Regions from separate parts of the Homo sapiens genome. Here region 1 is linked to region 2. Evidence: promoter capture Hi-C in 16 types of primary human blood cells and fetal thymus (Javierre and others, 2016). All regions are on one chromosome and are shown on one strand. The core of a region is centred on a gene start or on the middle of the fragment in contact, and the rest is flanking DNA. Distances in the headings are between cores, read along the strand shown.

What was found. Contacts are between HindIII fragments. The CHiCAGO score rates a contact against its expected background, and 5 or more counts as called.
Region 1: a fragment that was not itself captured here is called in contact with the fragment with the promoter of CTXN2 in region 2 in 2 of 17 cell types (M2 macrophages and M0 macrophages); the score reaches 6.4 in M2 macrophages.

Annotation. Positions count from the first base shown.
Region 1 is chr15:47,195,284-47,202,417 of GRCh38, forward strand. It overlaps a transcript of SEMA6D not described here. Among named protein-coding and RNA genes, the nearest start is that of SEMA6D, 520 kb to the right of the region's middle. The HindIII fragment of the contact is 4,207 bases long and covers 1,599-5,805 here.
Region 2 is chr15:48,186,227-48,193,726 of GRCh38, forward strand. CTXN2 (cortexin 2) reads left to right here and starts at 5,439. Exons shown (of 2, transcript NM_001145668.2): 1 at 5,439-5,627. CTXN2-AS1 (CTXN2 antisense RNA 1) reads right to left here and starts at 5,483. Exons shown (of 3, transcript NR_184082.1): 1 at 5,359-5,483; 2 at 4,707-4,835; 3 at 1,854-3,283. RefSeq lists an enhancer at 5,443-5,946. The HindIII fragment of the contact is 9,900 bases long and covers 1-6,387 here.

The DNA.
Region 1 (7,134 bases), core at 2,452-4,951, 990 kb before region 2:
CAGAGCACATTGCTTTCTCACCTGTCTTACTTGGGCTGCATCATCCGTTCCCTGCCCTTTATCTCTGCCCAGATAAGTCTAACTTTCTCTGCCAGAGCTGGGATAATTAGAACAAAAATGATTATCTGGTGTTGAGCTAATATACTATCACAGCTCTTTGACATATATAATTTTCTATCTCCCCTGATAACATTATAAGATAGGTATTAATACAAAAATTTTCCAGGGGAAGAAAATGAAAATCAGAAAGTTTGCATGATTTGTGGTTATAATTGTGTATTTTACCATGGTCTTACCAGATGTCAAAACCACACTCTTGTTCTTTTCATGATGCCTCTAAAGGATCACTCTCACGGGAGACTTTCCTAATGTCCTTTAACCCCTGACCCTGACCAATTTAGGTATCTCTTCTCGGGGTTCCACTGCATCTTGTGCTCGCCGTGTTTGAACATTTATCATGAATGAGCACAGCCTTCTATTCTCTTGTCTACCTCTTCATCCAGAGTCTGAGCACTTTGAGGGTGGACACGATGTCTTGTTGAAAGAACAGAATGTGAGACCCCCATTAACTGGATGGGTGAGTAAGAGGAAAGGCTCACCTACAGATGGGGATTCAACGTGGGTGAGCGTGTGGATGAAGGACAGCAGAGAAAGCAAGGCCCCCCAGGCCACCTGCCTTCACCCACCACCACTGGCCTCAGGTGCTCCACAGCAAGTTATCAATGAAGGGGAAAGTTTCAGATTTTTTTTTTTTTGGAGACGTGAGAACAGGGTTAACCACCCAAGAAGCAGGTGATATTCATCCAGCATAGCCCACACGTTGTAGGTCCACTAGGACTGGAGGGAAGTAACTGGCATCTGAGGAGCTATGTGTTCTGCTGTCCTCCAGGTGGCAGCATGGCCCAGCTGTTGGAGACAAGCTCAGTTCTTGGACATCCCTAATGCTGCCAGACTCAGAACTGTTCTCAAGGCGTTTAGTGCCCTGGGAATGATTAATGGCTCTGCCCGTTCACTGCACCCGGAGGGTAATTGAGCCTGCAGTATTTTGGAGGCTGCAGAGAGGCTTTCTGAGCCACTGTCTGATAGAAGGGGCTGCAACATTTTGGATATTATATCCCTTGGGAGACCTCCTGGAGGACATTTGTGTGCCAAAAGAGATCTTTGGTAGAACTCTTTAAAGAGGAAAAAAGACAGCCCCCCTAAAATATGGGGAAATTGAGCAGTTTTAACGTTTTTTCAGAAATTTGGTTTGCTGTATGTTCCATATTCTTTTTTCCTTCTTTGGTTCTGAAATAATATTCCTTTCCACCTGACTTAAAGCAAATCCTTTGGAAGGTAGCTTATGTTAATTGACTGAGTATTTTGAAAGCATGCAGGCAGAGCTATGTAAAATGTCTTAATTTAAATCAGCGCTAAGCCCTTTCATATTGTAAGCTGAGGTATTTAAAAGTAAGATGATTGGAAATTTCTAAAGTTGCACACGATTCAAGAGAATGCGAAACATGTTAGAAAGAGCTACTGGCACGAGGCTACAGCATCCATTTATTCTCAATATACACATAATATCAATTATAGAAGACAACCAACAAAAGATCTTAAGCTTGTCAGGTTGGGTTTGTGTGGCTGCTTCTGTTCATTAGAATTTTGAGTAACTGGGAAAACTACCAGATTCTTAATGGTTTCTTGAACAGGATATACTAGGAGATCTTAGCACTGTTAAGAAAAAAAATCACATATAAATTCAAAAAACCTTTGCTCATCTATGTGGCCAAATGGGGAATCTAACCCTCCCCCTTTCTGTAGTTTGGATTTAAGTACCTGTGGTGGTGGTTTTTTAGCTTCTTCTGTGGATTCATTAATATCACTTTGGTACTTTCAAGAACAGTTGTTCTTCCCTAACCTGTGAGATTTTACTCTCCATTATAGAAGAGTCTCTCCTCCTAGCCTGTGATGATTTGATGCTGTACCCTGTATACGAGGTTATCTTCCAGATGTTTAGAGAGCCAAACTTAACTGGTTCTCTGTGTGCCAACACTTTTAAGTTTTCACAGGCAGTGAGTTTAAGGTCTTTAAATCATTGGAATAGAGTAGAAAATCAGAAGAACAATTAGGATGGCCCCTCAAATTCTGTTTTTAAATTAGGTTACAGATGTGCATAGACTGCTCTTCTATCTTGCCTTGCTTTGTTAAATTTATCTCAAAGATTGAACTTGCAAGTGTCTTTTTTTTTTTTTGTAATGAAGACCTAAGCTAAAGATTGAAAGAAAGGAGTGGAGAGGGGGAATTAATTGAAATAAATCCACAATAGTTCATTCATAGCCTCTAATTTAACTACCACAACAAAATTAGTGGGAAAAAAAAATCCTAGCATTAAGTCTTGTTTGATGATTCTTGACTCACTGAAGGGCTTTTCTCAGCCTACCAGTTTCTTTGGCTGTTTTGGATAATTTATCAGAAATGTCTTGAAATGACCTCTTGATATGGAGATCTGTATTCCCATGCCGTCATTAATTATTGCACTGTTTAATATATACACACTATGGAGTACTCTAAGTATTATTGTTTATATTTCTTATTTTTTTTACTAATTTTTCAAAATACAAATTTCTTTCTGTGTCATATTTGTAAACTAATAATAATTTTTGGATATATTTAAATCATTTCCTTGGGGAGTCAAAAGGCTTACTGTCCTAGAAAAGGACAGAGTTGGTATTACCTGACACATGTAACATAATGCCCTCCAACTTCATCTGAGTTGTTGCAAATTACAGATTTTCCTTATTTTTTTGTGGCTGAATGGTACTCCATTGTGTATATACCTCATGATCTCACTCACACGTGGAATGTAAAAAATTGATCTCATAGATGTGGAGAGTAGGATGGTGGTTACCAGGGGTTGGTGCAGAGGGTGGGAAGATCTTGGTCAAAGGATATAAAATTTCAGTTAGACAGGAGGAATAGGTTCAAGAAATCCATTGTACAAATGGTGACGATAGTTAATATACTGAATTCTTGAAAATTGCTGTGGGCGGATTTTGTGTTCTCACTACAAAATATGACAACTCTGTGAGGTAATGCATATGTTGATTGGCTTGATTATACCATTCAAAGTATGTATTTTTCAGGATTTGATATTGTGCAATATAAATATATACAATTTTATCTGTCAATTAAAAAAATAAGATATGGATCCCATTGTGTCTAGGATCATGTTGATTCCTAAAGACAGAGCTCTAAGGAAGTGGATTAGGTGAAAACAATAACAGCTTGGCCTCCTCCTCTGCTTAGAAGGGCTCCTGTGTTGTGTAACTCCCAAGTGAATCTTTCACACCAAGGGTGGTCCAAGCAGGGACCTGGATTCACACTTGCAATTGGATGAGATTTTTTTTTCTCTTTTCTTTGGGGAGGATAACGGTTAATTAGTAAGCAAGAGAACCAGGATTCAAATTTAACTTTTTCTAAACCCAAAGCCCAAAATTTTCATTCTGCTTCCTTGACACCAATATTTTTGACAAACTGTTTGTAGCAAAGGATCACAAAATTATACAGTGACAGGAGGGAGGACACGTATACGTCAATATGTTTTTGTGCTTCTCTGAAACACCTAAGGGAAGAGATTTCAATGGGTACAGTTTGGAGTCCTTTCCTGGGAAGGAACTTCCCTTAAAAAGCATCATTCTGAGGACTAAACAGGAAAAAGATGTGGAAGAGAAAAACATTGACAACTACTTTACACTTTTCCCCTATTGGTTTTGCCTTTGTGCCTCAGCATCAGCAGTAAGTAATTGGGCTTTAAGATCATTAAAAGTTTCTGTATGTAAGTCCACTTGTTTGTTTGTTTATCTGTTTTTATCTCATTATTTCTAGTCTTTCCACAAAATATTTCAGGAAGCAAATGTGTTAGGATAGTTAAATAGACCTATTGGCTAATGAAGAGGTTTATATTAAGGTGCAGAAGAAAGTTATGAAAACAGATGGTTTCAGCTGCTCTCATTACCAGCCATGAATTACACCACCTGGAGAACTGCAATTCCTGTGAATTCACAATACATTTCCAGCAAAGTGTTTTGCTGAGTAGTCTTGCTGGGTGGAGTAGGTTTTGTAGTTGAGTAAGGCAAAGGTATAAGCAAGCCACTTAGAGCTCTGTACTCTAGGAAGAGTGTGTGTCTCCCCTACAAAAGCAGAAAATAAAAACATTCCTGTTTTACTTGGAATATGTTTTAGAACAAATATTTAAATATCTAAGTGGATATGTACATGGGTCCTTGTGTATGTGTGTGATATTTCTGCAATTCCTTCCAAAAAAATGATGTAGTCCCATTGTGAAAACCTAACTACAGAAGAGCTAGAAATTTATTTATTCCATCTTGACCTGTGCTCAACTTTTCCATGATAAAACACTCCTCAAACCTTCCTTTGCAAGAAAACTTGCTAAACTAAAATATATCTCTCCTCTCTCCTGCCTTCTCAGTACCAAAGTGTAGGATTTATTCTAGAGTATTTTGTGTATATGTGTGTGTGTGTGAACTGAGATGTCTAATAATACAAATAAATGGCATTTACCAAATTCATACTGTGCATTTTGCAGTGAGCTAGGTTAGCTAGTTACATACGTTATTTCATTTAGTTCTCATTATGAAAGTTACTATTATTAATACTGTTTGACAGATTTAAAAAAACAGAATCTTTGAGAGGCCAAGTAGCATGCCTAGATTTCAGCCAGTTGCGGTAGAACTGAGGTCATCCTCAGAGAACACACTTTTATGATGTATATCTATGTGTCTTTGTCTATATACTCCATATCACTACGTTCTGCTCAAACCAAAAGCAAGATTACTCAACAAAGGAACACTGAAGATTATCTGTGTACTTAAGTTGCCCTGAAATAAGGGAAAGGGCGAAAGGGCTGTGGAAATCACAAGACTCCAGTTTTGATTTAGCTCCCCTTGCTTCCTCAATCTGTGAGTATCTGATGTGCTGATCTTATTAGCTTGTTGGGAAGAAGACCAACTATATTTGTGAAAAGTGTTACAAGACTATAAAGGACTAGGAAACAAGGTACAACTAATCAGATAAACAAATTTAAGTGGTACCTGTTTGAGGGAGAGTTGGCAACCCTTCTCTGGGGTCAGAAAATTATATTTTATAAAATTCACATATCTGTTGGGAACAAAATATGTACTCAAAAGCATAAAATAAGCCTGGAATAAATTCACAGTGCCACTTTTAATTATAATTCTTAGGATTTTAGTCAATGTTAATTATTACTGTTTTATTCTAGTGAATTACTAAAATAAAGAAATATTAATTATGCGCTATTCTAACCAGCTTTAAATTTATGTAGTAAAGTCATTAAAAGTTTCTATCTGGTATTAGCATAAAAGTACACATACAATTCCACTATTTTACTAAGGCTGACATTTTGAGGTTGAGTTACAACTGCAGGGCAGTTTTCAAAAAATTGCCCTACAAACATCATATGAATACATTTTACACATTTATAGGTAGAAAAAGAAAGATATTTCCAAAAGTTAACCTAGAATGCTGCCCCAGCATTTGCTGGTTTCTATGCTTGACAAAATCATTCTTCATTGATTTAGAAAAAGTTACCAAAACAATATGATGACTGAATGATTTCTTGTTTCACCAGAGCTGCGTGGTTTCTTTGAGTGTGCTTTAAGAGAGAGGGAGAAGCCAGGGTGGGCATGAAGAGCCAGTATGTAAGCTGTATTCAAGGTGGTCTCTGTCTTTTTAGAGCTAAGGGAAACTGTCTTTTGCCTTGTCTTATTCATCGATTTAGTAGAAAGCTTGTGTGTGTTTTATATTTTGGAATATTCAGTCTTTTAGATTTACTTCCAAATAATTTATTTCTACATTATGCTTCTTTGTTTGTAGAGAACAATACTTACACAAGTGTTTTATGAAGTAAAATGAACCAACACTACACTCTACAAAGGGAATTTCAAAATAAAAACCATTACGGATGAATGGCATACATTACAGACATCTCTACCATATGTCTTAATGGGTCTGTTGTACTGAGCCCATTTACAAAATTCATAGGCCTAATTTATCTAAGAAATAGAGCGATAATGCTTTCAAGACAAGGAAAGAAATAGAAATGTGGTAAATATAAAAGACACATTAATAATTTTTCCTATGACCCTGATTTCTGTCTTTTCTTTTAAATTATTCAGAGTCATATCAGAAGGATAGTTTTAATAATACAGACATTATTCAATATCAGTAGAAGTTTGGCAACATTACTTCCTAGAGTAGGTGGTTTTGAGACAGAGTAGGGACAGGGCTTGGCTTCACCCCCACTAGAGGATTCTTTTATGCAGTCCCACAGATCACAAAACCTATACCACTACCTCACTGAAGCCGTAATGTTTAACCATACCTTTTACTTAATTCCAGAAACTGGCCTTAAGAGATCCAAATATTAAACCAAGATTGTGGAGTGTCCCACCTCAGGAAGGAATGCTGGACAATTGATTTACAGCCTGTTGCTGTTGGTCAGACCACCAGTTGGTCTCTTATTCAAGATAATTTCTATACCCTACTCCTCACATACTTTGCCCAGCCCAGACGGCATGCCTTATTCCTGATGTCAGTTCCCACACTTTGCCTAATAAAAAACCTCTGCTGGCTTTTTTGGGGGGTCAGCTGGAGGATCCTTGAGCTTATGCTGCCTTCCTTATGCTTGAGCACAAGCCCCAAAATAAAAGCTTTGTTTGGGAAATTGCTTGGCCTCATGTTAATGTTCATTACATGGGGAGCCACAAGCCTGTGGTCTGTAACAGATTCAGAGGATGGGAGAACTTCCGATATCATTATGTTACAGTAGGTAGCTAATCAGGAATGAGCAGGTCAGGAGAGGGCCTCCCTGACCCCATCAGGAATGTTAGGCGACCATCAGGTGATTGTCGGGAAGTTGTTACACTGCGTCTCTAAAATAATAATTGGTCACAGCCAGTCCCTGAGAAAGGCGGTCTCCCAATAAATAGATACAACTGAAACGGGTGATCAACAGCTTCCTGATAAGATCTCAGGAGTTGGGCGGGTGGCCTCAAGCAGACACATTAAGAGGCAAAATGGCAGAGTTTAACTGGTGTATGGCCTTCCAGGGAC
Region 2 (7,500 bases), core at 4,189-6,688:
AAATGAAATTTCATTTAAATAGAACACTCTGAACTGAAACATTTAGTACATTTTTCTTTGCAGAAAAGTTTACCAGAAAACAGAGCATCTCATTTTCAATGGGACTCATCAACCAGACCAGCATTAGATCATTAACTACACTAAAGTGTCATCATGCTCAATTCACTTAGGAGTCCACATACTTAGATCATTTCTTCACTGTTGACAAAATCCCACACAGTCATTTTCTAATCAAATCTAATTATCCTATTACTGTACTCTCTAATCCTATTTCAGCACATTCAGCCTTGGCTTAGTTTTGAGATATCAGATGGTAAAAATGACCTAAAGGAAGATCTCCAAGGGGAAAAAAATAGAAAACTAATGGGGTGGCTTTAAAATATGTAGGAGTTGGCCAGGCGCGTTGGCTCACGCCTGTAATCCCAGCATTTTGGGAAGCCAAGGCAGGCGGATCATGAGGTCAGGAGTTCGAGACCAGCCTGACCAACATGCTGAAACCCTGATTGTACTAAAAATACAAAAAAAAAATAAAAATTAGCCAGGCCTGATGGCATGTGCTTGTAATCCCAGTTACTCAGAAGGCTGAGGCAGGAGAATCGCTTGAACCCAGGAGGCAGAGGTTGCAGTGAGCAGAGATCGAGCCACTGCACTCCAGCCTGGGTAACAGAGGGAGACTCCATCTCAAAAAAAAAAAAAAAAAAAAAAGTAGGAGTTTAAGCCATTCAATACTTCGTTGTAAAACAGGGAATGAGATCATGTACCATGCATTTACAGCAGAATTTTTTAGCAGGCTCTTTGGATTACCTTGGGATTATAAAAATGAACTTCCAGAGATCCATGAATACCTGAGCTGTGAGCAAAACATCTGTATATATGTATTTTTAGGAAGAGGGCATATCTTTCTTAGTGAAATTTCAAAATCATTCTTATTCCTCCCCCCGAAACAATGATTAAAACTGTATATGTAGACAAAAAAGACATGGGTAGATAAAAATAACACTCATATACATAGGAGTTCATTTTTTGAAAAAAAAAAAAGGTTGACTTTTGAATATAGCTAATTACCAAACATCATCTAAAGCCAAAAAAGCATTGGATTAATCTTAAAAAATAGTTATACCAAAACTAATTTATGTTTGTCTTTAATACATGTTTTAAAATTTCACATTTGAAAGATATGCTACCCAATGTTTGAATCAATAGCAATATTCAAATTAAAAAGCACAGCTACATTAAAATATTTTAGTTAAGGAATAATAATCAAACCTCAGCCAAACAAGACGTAGATTTTCCTGAAAAATTGAAAGTAACATGTTGGCCTCATAGGTTGAAGAGGTAAAGGTGATCTCACTTTGCAAAAGTTGAGAGCAAGAAGTCAACTAGAGCCAAGATGGCAAGAATTTATGCAAGCTAAATTTTCCTCTGAAAAGAATCCTGAGCTCAGTTGTTAGAGGAAATTCTTGTTTTCAGTTTCTTTGTGACAACCTCATTCTAGAATATATTCATTACAGTTGGGCTATCATGCTTTCTAAATTCCTATAGTTACCATGTCTTCTAACAAGGTGGACAATTAACACTTCCAATCTCTGAGATAACAAAAAGTCTTAGTCATATAAGGGACACTATTTAGAGTATAAAAATAGCAATAGGGTAACAAAGTGGTTTGAAATTAAGCTGATCTATAATTATATAAACTGAAAAATTTCTTCGTCATCTTGACATTTTAATATTTCCTCATTATAGTTTAGATTTTTATCTTCATAGCTAATTAGATGATACATTTTCTGTATTTTAGTATCCTATTTAGAATAAATTTATAAAACAACCATATACACTCACCCAATAATCAAAAAGTAGAGAAATTTACTTTATTTATTTATTTACTCCACTTCTGATTTTATGAGGACATTTACATGAGGTCACACATTAAAACAAATAATTAAAAGAAAATAATATTATCATTACCTAAGAAACCAAAATTGCAGTAGTTAAGGTGATTAAAAAAAAAGAAAAGATATAAAAGGCTTAAGGTCTTATGTAGTTATTCATTTTCAGCTGTTAATTTGACTCTGGCATCCCTAGTAGCTAAAATAAATGCTAACTTTAATTAGTTACATGATTTTCATTGTGTGTAAGAACAGAACATACCACTTTACCCTGGGTTGATTTAAGTGAGGTATGAAAGTTCAATTCATTAAACTGGTATTGAAAGAAATGCTTTTGGGGATATATCTATGAAATCTAAATTTCTTGGGCATCTTTATATAAGAAATAGTAAGTTATATGTTGACCAACACTTTAGTAACAGCTCTGTAGTAGATATAGAGCAGGTTGTGTAAGCTGGCTACTGTTTCACATAGAATTACTGTATATAAGCTGAGAGCATAATGTCAAAGCATAGTAAAGGCAATTCTGCTTGAGGAACTTCTAAACAATGTCACCAACATATTTACCTTTCTAATAACTTGGATTGTTCTGAAAATAAATCATAGATGCTCCAGAAGTATAGATTATCCACATGTGCTTTAGAAAGGCATTCATATATTTCATGCCTTTCAGCAATTTTTTTTGTAAAAGTTGGGCAGTAGATATTGGCAAGGACCTGAAGTACAAGTATTCTGTGTTTTATCTTTTTGCAGTTCTTCATCCCTTCTTTGGCAATGGCTAATAAAACATGAATAGCATATTAATCTGTGTTTGTATAGAACTTTGTAGAACTTACCATATTATTTTGCCACGTATCTCCTCGAGGGCAGAGACCAAATCTCATTTATCTTTGTATCTCAGCATCTAGCAAAGAAAGTGGAACCTAATGGATTTTTAATCCATTATGCTTTCCTGAATAAGCCATTTTGCAGGCTTTTGAGAGCATCATTACCTTTCATATAGCTTGAAAAGGGTCAGGGTCATGCACCAACTAATACCAAGGAACCTAATTTATAATCAATGCTTTCCTTTGGCATCAATTCAGAAGCATTAATGGGAAACGCTAGCAACCTTCAAAATGTAAGCATGTGTGTATGATGTCAATGACATAACAAATCAACATTCACACAAATGATCTATGAAACAAGAAGCCTATTCTACCTTTTAAACTAAGTGAGAATTAGAACTGTAATATCCAGATTTTAAAAATCAGCTTTATGGGCATTTACCATGGAGCCATATTTCAAGTCATAAAGTGACAAGTCAAAGTCTCCAACCGTGATAATAAATTATTGGAGTGGTGCTTATACATCCGCAGCAGAATCATGTAACTTAGTTCTGCTCCCTTGAGCTCGGCCTGCAAAGAGAATGAATGGTTATAGATCATAGTATGGAAATACAGACTCAACTATACCACTGGTCCAGACAATGTCAAAATCAAAATCAAAGGAATCAAATTCATAAAAAATTGTTCATACTGTACAGACAAAATGTTTACATGATTAGTCTCTGAACTAATTTTGAATAAATTATTTTTGTAACAGTTTGGAAACATACATAGAATAATAGATGGAATAAAATGATCTCCTTTCCCACAATCTATGACTGACTGCATTGCCAGAATTCAATATCTCTAGCATCTTGCTACTTTATTTTTATTTATTTATTTATTTTGAGACAATGTCTCGCTCTGTCACCCAGGCTGGAGTGCAGTGGCACAATCTCAGCTCACTGCAATGTCCGCCTCCTGAGTTCAAGTGATTCTCCTGCCTCAGTCTCCTGAGTAGCTGGGATTACAGGCACCCACCACCACACCCAGCTAATTTTTGTATTTTTAGTAGAGACAGGGTTTCGCCATGTTGGTCAGGCTGGTCTCAAACTCCTCACCTCAGGTGATCCTCCTACCTCGGCCTCCCAAAGTGCTGGGATTACAGGCATAAGCCACCACTCCTGGCTGCATCTTGCTACTTTAATTGGTCCCAAAACTAGTAATCTCTGGCATCACCTAGGAAATTGTCAGAAAAGCACAATCTGAGACCCAACCCCACACCTACTGAATCAGAGTCTGCATTTTAGCAAGATCGTTGAAGATTCATATGCATGTTATACTTCAAGAAGCACTGTTCCAGCCCAGAGTGCTAATAAAGAATGTGGCCCTTGGCAAGTTTAAAAAGGGTCAATAAAACCATGGCCATGGAAATGTCCCTAGAATAAGATATGTCTTTCAGTCTTTCATAGAGGGCAGTTAGTTCACCTACATTTTAGGACATCTTAATAGTTTAAAATCAAAAAACAACTTTTAAAAAATGTGGTCTTATATGAACTCTCAGTTATACATTGCCCATTTTTTTGTAAGACCATTACATTTCCTAAATCAGTAAATACTCTAAATAATCATGAAGTTTGTCTTCACTTTGTTATTGAATCTAGTTGCAGTTACATTACGTTTTCAAAGTATTTTCTTTAGATGAGTGTCCCAATTCTGTATCTACATTTCCCCCAACGACTCACAGTCCAGTAGTTATAAGGTGAATAATTAAGATTGTAGGGAATCTAAAAGTGCTTGCAACTTGTAGGTTCTGGATAGAGTCGCAAAACATAAATAGAATTGGGAACCCTGTAACTGAGTTTGTTGAAACGGCCAGACCCCTAAAATAAGGATAAAGAGCAAGGTTTCTGTTGTTGTTTTTTTGTTTTCCTTTGCTTTGCTTTGCTTTACCTTGCTTTCAACGTCGGTTAGGTTTAGAATCTACATATTCAACACTGTTTAGAAAACGTACCTGGCAGCTATCTAGAGCTTTATCAGAGCGTTTCCTGGCTGCTATTTTGTTGTCTTCTAGCTTGTGTTGGGGAGACAGGTCTCACCACGCACCATTTCAGCACTACGGACAGCGCCTAGGCGCCTTCTCCTAGAAACGGAAGGGGATTCAGTTGTGTTTGTGTGGAAGAGAGAAGGGAAAGAGTAGAGGAAAAGAACTCCAAACGACACATTCAGTCTCCAGTTAAATCAATACACCTTTCACTCCTGAATTTTCCTTACCGGATAAGAAGAAACGTGTAAGAATTTAGTGCCTACTGTTCTACTGAAAACGGCTGTCACCAAAGCACAGCAAAATGCCCGCAGCACAGCCAGGAATGCAGCAAAGAGAGCAAAACAAGGATTTCAGCAGTAAATCAATTAAACCCTCACTGCCTTAGTAAACAAAGATAATGATGAAATCTAATTGCTAACCTTCAGGGTGTGTCGTGAGAAAAAAAAGGAGTGTCTATTTTTTTCTTCCTCTCTTCCTCTTTCTTTTAGCAGAACTGAAGAATAGAGCCTGTTGCTGCTGGAGCTGATTCCCTTCCCCTCCTCATCTCCCACCTCCTTTCAGTCTCACATACACACACAGATGCTGCCACAGACACACGCGAGCGCAAATATTTACACACTGCCACACCGAAGAAATCCATGCACGTTTTCCTGCAAACGCGCGCGCGCACACGTACTTCGGCGGGCGCCCACGTCCTCTGTCTCACCAACAGACACAGACATTTACACTTCTAGGCCAGGAAAGCGCTAACCAGGGCCCTGTGACTCTACGCAGGTTCCAGAACACGCCTTCTACATTTGTTACTGAACCGATCAGCGAACACAGACAAACGTGCCAACACTTAAGTCTACTGGCTGGACTTCATCTCCATGGCAACAAGCATGGAAGGTGAGACATCGCTGTCTGCGAAGTAACTTTCTCCCCCTTCCCTCCGCATTAACTGACAGCGTTCCAAATGCAGGTCCAGATGAGAAGCATGTCCTCATTCTCTTGTATTTCTGAAGCAAAAGAGCGGGGGGTGGGGCGGTGGGTGGAGGAGCCAGTAGGTCTGATAAGTTCAAATTCTAAAGGAGAAACAGCACCCCTAATGCTAGCGCCACTGCTGATGCGGCTGCCAGGCGGGGGAAAAGTGTTGTGTACGTGCAGATTGCTGATGCTTCTCCCATAATGTTTTGTAGGAAGTTTCCATGCTTCTTCGGTTTAGTGCGTAGAAAGAGACCTGGAAACAAACAACGCAGAATGATGATGATGGTCTAGGTTTCTTTAATGAGATATCTGGAGAATTTTCAGACCAGGTTTCCCAGTGCGTTGGAAGGATTGAGTGTCAGAGTCCTTGAGCCATCCAAAGATTCTCTTAAGAGAGAAATTCTCTTAAGGTTGAAATCTGAGGGTTTAGGGGTGGATTCTGGCAGATCCTAAGGTCTGGGATCTCTGGAAAGCCCTGAAATTTATGCATTTCACCATGATGAAGACATCTAGGTTTGTAATTTAAGGTTTTCCTTTTATTCCAACACATTCGATTCTTAATGATTAACTACCTCTGTGCAGATGTGGTTTCAATAATGCTTCTTTTCTCTCTTTTACTGGGATATAATCTTTATATTTTGTGTGGAGTGTGTATATGTATGGAATGGTTCATTATTTTTTAAGCTTGGGTTTTCTTATATGTCTTATTTCATGAAATTATGAATGTCATCATTAGCAGTAGAGATTATTATATCTAATGACCAGTGCTAAAATACTTTCTACCTAGAACATCATATTCCACTCTAATAGTTATTATTTCAGGTTTATTGTTTGGAATACCATTACTAGAGAAATAAACAAGAGGAAAAACCTGTTGATTAAAATAAAACACAGGAGGTTCTTTCTTTAATGGGTACACACTTTTTAACATTAGTTTCTGTAATTGTGCATTGTTGCATGATTAAATGATTTTATCTGAAAGGTATATTTTTATATCTCTAGTAAGGTTATTTCACAGAAGACATAAACATCACTAACAATATTCATGAATATGAAAGGCTGCATATCAGGTATAAAAATACTATCATCTTTGCTTAACTGCTTACGGAGATATGATTTGTAAGTACTGATCATAGGAAGACTTTGTTTTTTACTTACTAGTTGCCAATTACAAAGCAACTTCATGAGATTTGGGCTATTTGATATCTACAGGAACACCCCTGGCCCAATCTTATGACTCATCAGTACTTAGAAATCTTGGTGCCTGACAATTGCCATGAAGGAAATGTACTTTCAACCAAGTTACTCATTGCCAAAGTACCTAACCATTTATTCCAGTGAATATGGCTCAAGACAATATTTTATCATTTGCATCAGTAGTATTAAAAGACACTTAAATATTTTAATCATTATATATATTGATCCTGATATTTAAACTGTGCATTGTTTATTTTACCCAATTTTGTGGTATAATATATTTCAAATAACTTTTACCACTACCCAATTTTACATTCTACTTATTTTTGAAAGTTCATTTTTTCTTAACTATTTTTATATGGATTTTTTAATATATGGTTTTGTAACTTAATCTAAATTTTCTCAGATTTCTTTTTTTTTCTATTTCCCAATAAACAGGATATTAAAATGATGCTTCTCTGGAGCTAGGCATTACAGTGTCTGTTGTGAATAGCTCTTCCAGCTTTTAGAGAAAGTGAAAATGCATATTTTATCTATAACTGTTGAGTATTTTGAACACCTTAGTAATTGTGAATGAATCAGTTTTATAACTGGGGAC